4 separate regions of the Homo sapiens genome follow, and all the other regions are linked to region 4. The links are contacts of gene promoters, found by promoter capture Hi-C in human tissues and cell types (Jung and others, 2019). All regions are on one chromosome and are shown on one strand. Each heading gives the region's core, a stretch centred on a gene start or on the middle of the fragment in contact. The rest is flanking DNA. Distances are from core to core; before and after follow the strand shown. Region 1 overlaps RIT2 (Ras like without CAAX 2). Region 2 overlaps RIT2 (Ras like without CAAX 2). Region 3 overlaps RIT2 (Ras like without CAAX 2). Region 4 holds the start of SYT4 (synaptotagmin 4).

Region 1 (2,700 bases), core at 139-2,638, 260 kb before region 4:
TAGCAAATAAAAACATGATAATTTTTGAGATTGTCTGGAGAAAGAACCTTCATGCTTACTTGACTGTGAGAAGGTGAGAGTCTAGGATTAATTAAGCCTTGAAAAATACCTAGATTTATTGATCAGATATCCCAGAATGAGTTTCCAAAAGCAGCAGAGCAGTGCCTGAAAATAAGTAATGAGCCATAAGCTGTGGGATTATGTTGAAGAAGACAAAAGAAAAGAATGCTTCCCCCAAAAAGGGCATAATCACCAGTATTGGTTACCTCTTAGAAGTAGAGTAAAACATTGACTGGCTATCATGCACAAAATATGACAGTATATGGAAGCTTAAAGTAAAAACACCACTCACGTGCTGATACTTGTAACCCCTGTCTATCTTAAACAGTCTCCTATGGCCTCATATATTCAACTGCTGAGAAGCTTCCAGTTAGTTAACTTGGTTTGACTAATGAAGGTTTAATTATTCCTAGGTGCATGACTATGTAAGGACATTAGGAAAATAAATACATTTTTAAAAAATGCTACTATCCAGCTTCTAATTAAAAAAGTGAGAATTTGTTTAATGTACAAAAGCATCAAATAGTCAAGTAAGCATGAAGATGCATCAACTTTTATTTATGACTTTCACAGATTATATGCATCTGGAAGATTTGTTTCCTATCATTTCACATGACTGACAAAAATAGAAAGATAAAATAAATTTTAGTTGTTTTCTAATACACACGAATTGTTGCTTCCATTGGTGTGGTGCTTGATAGGTTTTAAATTGCTTTTTACATAGTTAATTTTAGCTTCAAAACAGTTTCATTTTTGTTTTTAAAAATAAATATGGCTGGCATTATTTTACAAATAAGAAAAAAAGGCTCAGATTGGATCAATAACTTGCAGAGAAGGACAACTAATTTGGACTCTGCTTTTCTGATATTTAATTCAGTCCCTTTTCATCATATAAATTCTAAATGTACAGAACATACTAAAACATTATAAAATAAGACGTTTTATCCCCCCACCCTCTGCCCCAGGTAAGTCATAAGCACACCAACTCTAAATGACTGCGTCCAGGAAATATTCAAAGTTAAAGAAAATTATCTATCTTTGTACTAATGAGAATGCACATTATGGGACTATCTTTAATCAGAGAAAGTCAAATTATAGAATATGGAAAATTGACATATTCAATTTGATTATTTACCATGAATCTGACTAACCAAATATTTCTAAATATTTTTCTCCATGTCCTCACTTCGTGCTGAATAAATGCATACTAATATGGACAACTTCAGTGTGAAATGTCAGAATGTTGTCCTCCTTAGTCACCAGGAACCATATCAACATAGTAGTTAAAATTACATTAGTTAAATTAAAAGCTTTAAGCAGAATCTGCCATGGCTAATAACAAAGCTCTTCTTTGAAGAGGCCAAAAATTAAAAGGTAATTGTAAACAGCTCTGACACTGGGGTCAAAAATTATGGATTAGGATCCTAGTTTTACCAACTTCTAAATATATGGCACTAGGTAAATGTGTCTAAATTACACTAAATCATTGAAAGTACTGAGCGGTATGTTACAATTTTAAATGTATCCCTAAGTAGAATATTTCACACTCTACATTTTAAAAATGATAATTACACAAATTGGGAGAGGCAAATGCACACTTTGTTAGCTCATTTTAGGTACGCTTAAAATAGCTTTTACATCTCAATTTGCTTTCATCAGCAATCAGTCAATATGTAGGTCATGTCTACATGAATACTTTTCTTCTCACTCTAATTATTTACATAATTGGCTTATTAGGAGTCAATAAATAATAAAAGATATCTTTAAAAATAAGCTATTAAAATAATACAAAATATAAATATAAGTAATTTGATTTCATAACACAATTGGTTCATGTTTGCTTAGTTATTTAGGTTGACCAGCACTTATTTTAATTAGCTTCTGAATTTAGTCAGCATCAAAGATGGTTAACTAAATATTTCATTGGTTATAGTACTATCTGAAAACGATATTAAAAGAATAATGATAACATTGTTTTTATTACATTACTTAGCAGTAGTAGTTAGTATTTAGAATTAGGAAATGGTTACAGTATGCCAGGTTCTAGGCTAAGCACTTCACATTTATTATCTCAATTAACCCTCACAGGAGACTTATGTGGTAGGGAGAGTTATTATTTCCATTTTTCATTTGGAGAAATAGAGTTCAGTAAATCATATGTAGAAATGTAGTTATCTTCCCAGCATCACACAGATGACAGTCACATGCTACTTAAAGCCAGATGCATCAAACATCCATCTGTGAGCTGGTAGGGCTGGCCATTAGTTTTAGAAGGTTTTGATTATTTACAGTGAATCAGTAATTTTGGTGAATATAGGAAGAAAATTGTCTTTGCAACCTGATACACACACGTTTACTGCAAGAGTAAGAAAGTAGACTGCAGTGTTACTAAGTTTATTCTGATGTGAAATTTCTTCCTTTTTTTGTACCACATAAAGAGTTAGTAAGGGGGTGCCCTAGTAAGTTGGGCTCAAGGTCAAACAGCTTGTAAAATTTGTAAAATTAATCACACAGTTCAGTTCACTGTCTTATCCCTCTGACTCCCTTTCCCTCACACTGCCCCTAACGCGAAGAGTGATCAGAGTAGCCACAGATGTTTCTGGCATCAGAGAAAGAGGCAGAAGGCATTGCAGAGGGCAA
Region 2 (2,700 bases), core at 87-2,586, 480 kb before region 4:
TAAAATGATACCAGTCAAATTTTCTAAGCTTTTCCCCCTATACTGCCAGACAGAAATTCTTCATTTAAACTGTTTTACTTCTTGGCCTGTTGAACAGTACACAGGCATTTTTAATCATCCCTCATACATCTACTCTTCCTCTGTATCTAAGAACCTACACTATCATTTTAAATCAGCTCAGATTCCATATAGCTATTACATAAATCCTATTCTGACTTCTCAGCCAGTCATCTTTCTTTGTTCTTGTTTAAGGAAAAGGTCTCATTAAGGGAAATAAATCTGGGGGACTTCAACATATTAATGCCAAATAAAGTCATGAAACTGAATGAGATCACCCAATAAGTGAGTACAGTTAGAAAACAAACAAACAAACAAACAAAGAGGCCTGAGGACTGAGACCTGGGCATTCCAAATTTAGAAGTTGGACAGATAAAGAGAACCCAAAGGGAAAAAAGACTAAGAAGGAGTAGACAGAAGCTTCAAAGTAAACATTCAAGTGAAAGCAAGAAGTATTCTAAGGAGAAAAGAGTGATCCACTGGGTCAAATACTATTTTTGAATCATGATTAATTTTTACTCCTCTACTCCTGTTATTTATTACTTGATAGAGGAAGATGGGTATCAAGATTAACCAAAAACTTTCTTGACTTTTTCTTTCCACATTTTCTGGGACACCCTAATGACTTTTGGAAAAGCCTTCTCTCATATCCAAATCCCTTACAATTTCTCATTAGCACCCTACAATTAACTTTTTTTTTTTCCTGAGACTGTCGTATACTTAAATTTTCTGTGCTCCCAAGTTCACTATTTAACTAGAGTATAAGAAAGAATGCGGTTATCTCATAAGCATACATTCTATTTTCCTCCAAGAAAACAGTTCACTCTTTCTGGTGAAGGTAAGGCCAGGCACTCCTTCTTTTCCTCCTTCCAGAGTGCCCTGCAGGGTGCTAGGCCACACGTTGCCTAGCAGACACAAGCAGTCAGAACTTCCCCAGGCATAAAGAATGCAATGTTGTAGCAATGTTGTAGCCATGGTTCTTCCCTGACTTAGTAGCATCAGACAAGCCACTAATCTTTTCAATCATTGGAATCTTCATTTTTAAAGTAGGCAATATCAACCTAGCCCAAATAAAATAAGTCATTTATATGATATCATATTGAAAGGTATAGATCATTGAATAATCTAGGTTTGACTAATTAGTGAATCAGTTTTGCATTAATTACAATGCTTGCTTCTACAGTACATCTTCCAAAATTCTCCTAACAGTTCTCTTGCAAAGCTAGAAACATAAGCAAACATGAGCTTACATTTTTTAAGGTTAATACAGATAGTTAAATCTTAGAGACACAGTTTATATCTCTGATTTCTACTTCTGATTTAAAAAAATATTTCACATGGATGTCTGTGCAAACAGCTGAAATAATTTTTTAAAACCCTCAGAGCTAATAAAAGTGATGGAATTATTGTATGGTGCACGTTTATTATAGGAAACAGTTCATATTATGCAGTAAAAGCTGATTTATAGCATGTTATTTATCAAAAGAGGAATGAGAAATCTTTGAGGACTGCCTTGCTAATTTTTCTTTTAGCCTGATGAGAAATAATGCACAATAAAAATGATAAAAATAATTGCCAGATAAGTTGACACTGGTGAGAGGCACATACCATTTACTTATGACATTTCTTTTCCATGAAAAAAATCTTTAATATGTCAAAGACAGTAGAAAAATTGACACTAACATTTTAAATGTTTTTCTTTTTTTGAAACTAAGGAGAGAGATGGGCAAGAGGACCCATATCCGCTCCTGGTCGCACTGAGAGGTGACAGTGTGCTGGCAGTCCTCACAGCCCTCGCTCGCTCTCGGCACCTCCTCTGCCTGGGCTCCCACTTTGGCGGCACTTGAGGAGCCCTTCAGCCCACCACTGCACTGTGGGAGCCCCTTTCTGGGCTGGCCAAGGCCGGAGCCCACTCTCTCAGCTTGCAGGGAGGTGTGGAGGGAGAGGCGCGAGCAGGAACCGGGGCTGCGTGCAGTGCTTGCGGGCCAGCTGGAGTTCCGGGTGGGCGTGGGCTTGGAACAGACGGCCGACCCTGCCAGCCCCGGGCAATGAGGGACTTAGCACCCGGGCCAGCGGCTGTGGAGGGTGTACTGGGTCCCCTAGCAGTGCCAGCCCACTGGCGCTGCTCTCGATTTCTCACCGGGACTTAGCTGCCTTCCCGCGGGGCAGGGCTCGGGACCGGCAGCCCGCCATGCTTGAGCCTCCCACCCCCTCCATGGGCTCCTGTGCGCCTGAGCCTCCCGGATGAGCGCAGCCCCCTGCTCCACGGCGCCCAGTCCCATCGACCACCTAAGGGCTGAGAACTGCGGGCGCGGCACGGGACTGGCAGGCAGCTCCACCTGCAGCCCGGGTGCGGGATCCACTGGGTGAAGCCAGCTGGGGTCCTGAGTCTGTTGGGGCCTTGGAGAACCTTTATGTCTAGCTCAGGGATTGTAAATACACCAATCGGCACTCTGTATCTAGCTCAAGGTTTGTAAACACACCAATCAGCACCCTGTGTCTAGCTCAGGGTTTGTGAATGCACCAATCGACACTCTGTATCTAGCTACTCTGGTGGGGCCTTGGAGGACCTTTGTGTGGACACTCTGTATCTAGTTAATCTAGTGGGGACGTGAAAACCTTTGTGTCTAGCCCAGGGATTGT
Region 3 (2,700 bases), core at 107-2,606, 300 kb before region 4:
AATTTCAATCATCTGCCTATAGACCCAATCCTGAAGTGAACTCATTTATCTTCTCAAGCATGAGGCCAAATGTATACAAAGCTTTATCAGGCAGAAATGGTAGCAGCTGCCTGCTGTATCATTTGCGCAGAAAAGCACACTAGGACTGCATTCTTGGAGGCATCCACTACCTTAAAATTTATCTCAAAGTACTAATGTTTAATTTGAGATCATTGCTTCTCAGGATATATCTTCTCCACTGTCCCTCTTCAGCAGAATTGCATAAGAAGAAATCACTAAAGACCTATATTAAAGCCTCAAATCTATCACTAAATATCTGTTATTGGTTGGCCATGAAACCTTATTTGTAAGATGGCGATAATAGTAACACTAGTCAACGCATGGGAGTTCTATAAGGATCAACAAAAGTAGCACATAAGACAGTGCTTTTGAAAAAAGAAAGCAAAATTCAAACTCAAGGAATATTATGTTATGAGTTTTATTTAGTACTGCTTCAAATTAGCCATGAAACTAAATTAAAACTAAATTATTTCTGCTATTTATATTTACCCATGTGGAAATGTTTTTCCCAAGTAAATCATAAACTTTTTGGCAAGATATGTTTGCAATAATAACTAGAAATATAAAGTTTTTGATTAATTAAAAAGTGTAAGGTATTCTGGATAATTTTCCCAAAGCAGCTAATGTATTTTTTTCAGAATAAACATATTCATTTACATAATTTTAAAATATTTTAGTTGCAAATATAAAATTAGGATAATATAAGACCACCAAAATATATAACTAAGAAAAAAATATCAGAAATTTAATGGTAAATTTTCATTAAATGATTTTCAAATATCTTAAGATGATTGAATACTTCTTACATGGTTTACCTCATAATCTGAAATATATAATTCATATTACAATGAAGCTATTTTTCTATAACTCCAAGCTATTATACACCTCCAAGATATTAATCACTGACCCAAATTTTTTAAAGGCAATAAATAGTACAAAGTCTCATAGAATCAATTTATAAGATCTTTCTCAAAGGATTACTTGAATAAATCATCTCAATTGTAGGTACATATGTGTGTCTGTGTGTACAGAGCAGAAGTATCTTGCAACGTACTGTGCTGCACACTTTTTCTTGACCAAAATGTTAAATCCTGGATGAATCAGCATTGATACAAATCTAATGTATGTATCAATATATTGATCAATAAAGGGTTCAATATGTATTTGAGTATGTAATAGGTGCTGCACACTCAGATGGCAATACAGTCTACACAACTGAAAAAGCCAGGTGGTTTCCACCCACATTGAATTTATAATCTTGTGGGAATACATAAAAAAGCAATTGCACTGTATTTTAATGAGTGCTACATTAGAAGTACTTTGAAGGGTGCTTATTTAGGGAGATGTCAGAGAACACTCAGAGGAACTGATGTTGAGCTAAGGTCAGTTCTTCAAGTGATGGATTGAAAACAGAGTTAGGAAGGAGGAAGACAAGGAGGGCTCTGCCACGAAAAGAGAAAAGAAGTTGCATGAGATCTGATGTAACCCTTCCTTTGGGCCTAAACATTCAGTGAAATGTCATAAAAGTCTACCTGTTTGTTGGCTGTGAAAAAGGCTTGTAAAACTGGCTGAACTGAGTTTGTGGGACGACTCAGGGCAAAGAAGAACAACCTTTCCTATCATAGAAGTAAAAGCTGAAGACAGGGTACCACAAGGACCTAAACCCTAGAAATTCACAGGAATTATAAGGCAGAGCATGGATTTTTTCTCATGCTGTAATATTGAGAATTCAGTACAGTTTACTTAGGTCTCTGAGAAATAGGAGCTTCCAGATGATATCTGACTTACACAGCAATTGAAATCTTTCCCCCAGAAATCAACTACCCCACTAGCATCTATTTATATAGATGGAATCTCCCTAGTATCAGAGGGATGCTGATTGGTGTCAACTACCCCACTACCACTAGGTAGGTAATAGGGTAGTTGATACCAATCAGTATCTCTCTGATACCCCCCGGAGATTCCCAGTGTTACTGCTCTGGAAAGTCTGCCCAAAGTGGCCAATCACACACTTTCTGTGGTGTTTGCAGGCAGATTCTCCAGTGACTAACATGCTTGTCAGAATGTCTGTGCCCCTGGACTCCTCTGCAGGAGGCCTTGCCAAGAACAGAAAACCCAATGAGGAAGGGCAAGCTGGGGTGTGTCCTGTGGAGACACAGAACCCTACCTGGAGATTTGCAGGTACAGAGGACCACTACTGGAAGATGTCATTTTAAACAATGACTTATCAGATCAAGGACAAGCAGATGGAGATGTATTTGATAAGGAATATACTGATCTTCTGATGAGGGGACATGTAGCCCTGGCAAGAGTATGCAGAAGGAACAGCCAAATGACTGCTCTTCCCCAAAGTCATTATCTACAGAAAATGCTTCAGTGTGTCTCTCATATGTTAGAAACATTTAATCTTTTCCTTTCAACCTGAGAGAGTAGAAGGATCCATTGGAAACCTAATTCCCTGGCTGTCTTCTGCCAAATAAATATGAGCAACAGGACTAGGTCACGGTCACTGATGCTGAATGTCTCCAGTTCTTTGTGTCTGCCTCACTTAATTATTGCTTGGGGATGAAGGGGAAGAGAAGAAAATAATCTTTCCTCCCCAGCACCTGGCATCTCTTGGTCTACCTTTTTAACACCTCA
Region 4 (2,700 bases), core at 156-2,655:
ATTAGAAAATCATTCAGGTTTCAAATGAAGAATTGGGAATAAATGTCATACCAAAATAAACCCAATAACCCAAATGGAAGGCTGGGAAAGAAATTCATTTATGAACATAATATCACAAATTGTCCCTATTGAATAGTTATGTCAAATGGCAAACATTTTCTATAACGTGGAAACACTTATCTACTCCCTATGTATTCTCTACTGATAAGGTCTTACAATCTTGAAAGTCAAGATCATAGTTATTTTACTCAGCTTAATAACAATTATCACACATCTGTAGATATCACTCCTCTTCACAACCTTCTATGAAATTTCATGATTTAAAAAATACGTGTAAGTAAAATTCTGACCTTTTTCCTTTGGAATATACTGAGATCTAAAAATAGTACTTTTTTACTCTATGAAGTACGTCTAATTTTATGTACTGAAACCAAAAACTTGGTGTGAGAAAAGGAAAACTGAACGGGAAAATTGGAGCCCTAATTCAAGTTTCCAGCAGCTTTTAGCTAATTGTGCAACCTATAATACTTCCCTCATCTCTCTGGGCTTTGGTTAGCTCAGCAGTGAAATGAAATGGGCTGAGCCAGTTCATTTTGAAACTCTCTTTAACCCTGCTACCATATGATTCTGTCTTTCACTAGCAACATATTTCAAGGATACAAGAAAAACATAGCAGAGAAAAACACCCATATGGTACGCCCTGTAATAAAATATACATTGCCAAACCCCAATAGACAAGTTGCTTTTTTTAACCAAGATCAAACCCCAATGTAACCAGAGATATATTTATCTTCTCCTAATAAAATATAGATTTACCTACAAATAAGAATCACCTACAAAATAGATGAAACCAACATGGGAAAAACAGACCCCTTTTTCTTTACTCAGTACATGCTGCAATTTACAGAAGTACCTGAAAATTTAAGAACTTCCTGAAGGTAAATTCTCCCTAACAGAAGACAGTTTCAGGGAGAGAGATACCAAGGAAGGGAGAGAAGCTGCAGAAATAAGCCACAATTGCCTGACTGCCATTCTCATTTTCCTTTTAAATTAACTACCTAGGAAATCTGTATTCAACAACCGGGCAAAAAATAAATGAATAAACAGTCCACCCCAGAGTATTCAAGGAATAACCGCAGTCATAAGTTCAGTAACTTGCTTACCAAATTCTTCCCGGCTGGTGGTGATCGGAGCCATTTTTTACTGCGTGTTCTGTCCGAGGTGCTGAAGGGAAAACTGCCTGGCTGGATTCACTTGCCTGGATCTCAAGCGCCGGCTTTCGGAGCGCTGAAAACAACAGCGCAGAGCCCAGGGCACCAGCTCCTGGAACAGGGAGGAGGCAAAGAGGGAGGTCCACTCGCCCTCGCACAGTGATTTGCCACCTCGGTTCCTGTTTTGGCTCTTCTGAGAAGCTCGTCTCCGAGACTCCAGACGTGGCTGGAACCCGAATTGACGCAATCCTGACGCTACAGGGCTGAAATCAGCACCTGCCCCCCTCCCCTCCTCCCTTCAAGCTTTCCTTCTTGCTTCCTCCCTCCTCTCTTGAGGATTCAACACATGCTCATCAATTATTTTAACTGTTGGACCACTAGAGATTAGCTTTGCTGTTTTGTGGGGGCTCAGAGGCTCACCGAGATAAGCCCCGAAACTGATCCCTGTCAGTTCCTAATATAAAATCTCCTGATCACCTAGATGAATAAAAATATGTTTCTGAGTTTTCAGAATAACGTAACTTACAGAGGAGAAGTTTCTGCTTCAAATTACTCTTTTTAACATGCAAAAACATGTTTTCTTGCTTTTTAATTTTTTTCTTTGACATGTTATACCTATGATACTTATTACATTTAGAAAAGATTCACTACAAATTGATGCATTTGATATAAGATAGTTTTCCCAGTATAATCCTTTATGTTCTAATAAATTATTAGTCTAAATATTTTGCTGGAACAGTTGATCTTTCCTGGTCTCTCAGCTCTCTTCCCTTTAATATCTGACATTTGACCAGTTAAAGCACTTAGGAACAGATGGGGATAATTCCTTGGATATTCAGAGTCACTCTCAGTTATGACTTTTGCAAATAATAAGGCGCTTCTGAAATGACATTTATGGTTAAAAGGCCTGACTTCTAGTACGTTTGTACAAAATAGTTTCCAAAATCAGGCCAACATCTAAAGTAACATTGGTAACATTGGTTATTTCAAAGGAAAGCATTCCTTTTTCTAAACTGATGATATTCTCGGAGGTGAAAAACTGTGAAAAATATGGTGTCGGATTCTGATTCATTGGAATCTGAAGAGTGTGCCTTTCTAAAACAAATGCTTAGCAATTTTTCAAAGGAAAGAAGTCAAGCTGTAACTCCAACTGTCAATTATTGCTCTGCAAAGAATTTCTTTGCTCTGGAGTTAATAAGGAAATGGCATTCAGTGTGTGCTGGGATGTGGGAGAAGGGATACAGGGTGAGTCTCAGAAAGCTACTGTGCAAGTGACAGGTCCCTGCACATTGGCTAGCAGCAGCCCAGAGCATCAGGGCTCTGTCTGGGGAGAAATTGGCTTCAGTTCTTTGCATCATGGAAAATTTTATAAACCAGTCTTTTTTCTTTGCTATTCTATTTGCTCCCACATACTTGGCATTGGAGTGTTCCTCTAACAGATTTTTTTAAACTTTATATCTTCATGCTTTGAAAACACACAAACTAATTT

Evidence for each region. Contacts are between HindIII fragments. The study calls those that stand out against the background at their distance.
Region 1: a contact is called between a fragment that was not itself captured here and the fragment with the promoter of SYT4 in region 4, in 2 of the 25 tissues and cell types used here (dorsolateral prefrontal cortex and hippocampus).
Region 2: a contact is called between a fragment that was not itself captured here and the fragment with the promoter of SYT4 in region 4, in 3 of the 25 tissues and cell types used here (dorsolateral prefrontal cortex, mesendoderm cells and thymus).
Region 3: a fragment that was not itself captured here is called in contact with the fragment with the promoter of SYT4 in region 4 in 5 of the 25 tissues and cell types used here (dorsolateral prefrontal cortex, hippocampus, mesendoderm cells and 2 more).

What each region holds. Positions count from the first base shown.
Region 1 is chr18:43,015,556-43,018,255 of GRCh38, forward strand. All of the region lies in intron 2 of RIT2 (Ras like without CAAX 2), which reads right to left. Among named protein-coding and RNA genes, the nearest start is that of RIT2, 99 kb to the right of the region's middle. The HindIII fragment of the contact is 4,069 bases long and covers 1-2,700 here.
Region 2 is chr18:42,793,251-42,795,950 of GRCh38, forward strand. All of the region lies in intron 4 of RIT2 (Ras like without CAAX 2), which reads right to left. Among named protein-coding and RNA genes, the nearest start is that of RIT2, 320 kb to the right of the region's middle. The HindIII fragment of the contact is 4,951 bases long and covers 1-2,700 here.
Region 3 is chr18:42,978,520-42,981,219 of GRCh38, forward strand. The region is part of intron 2 of RIT2 (Ras like without CAAX 2); the gene reads right to left. Among named protein-coding and RNA genes, the nearest start is that of RIT2, 140 kb to the right of the region's middle. The HindIII fragment of the contact is 7,856 bases long and covers 1-2,700 here.
Region 4 is chr18:43,276,085-43,278,784 of GRCh38, forward strand. It overlaps SYT4 (synaptotagmin 4), which reads right to left and starts at 1,406. Exons shown (of 4, transcript NM_020783.4): 1 at 1,164-1,406. The coding sequence starts at 1,197. The HindIII fragment of the contact is 4,332 bases long and covers 1-2,700 here.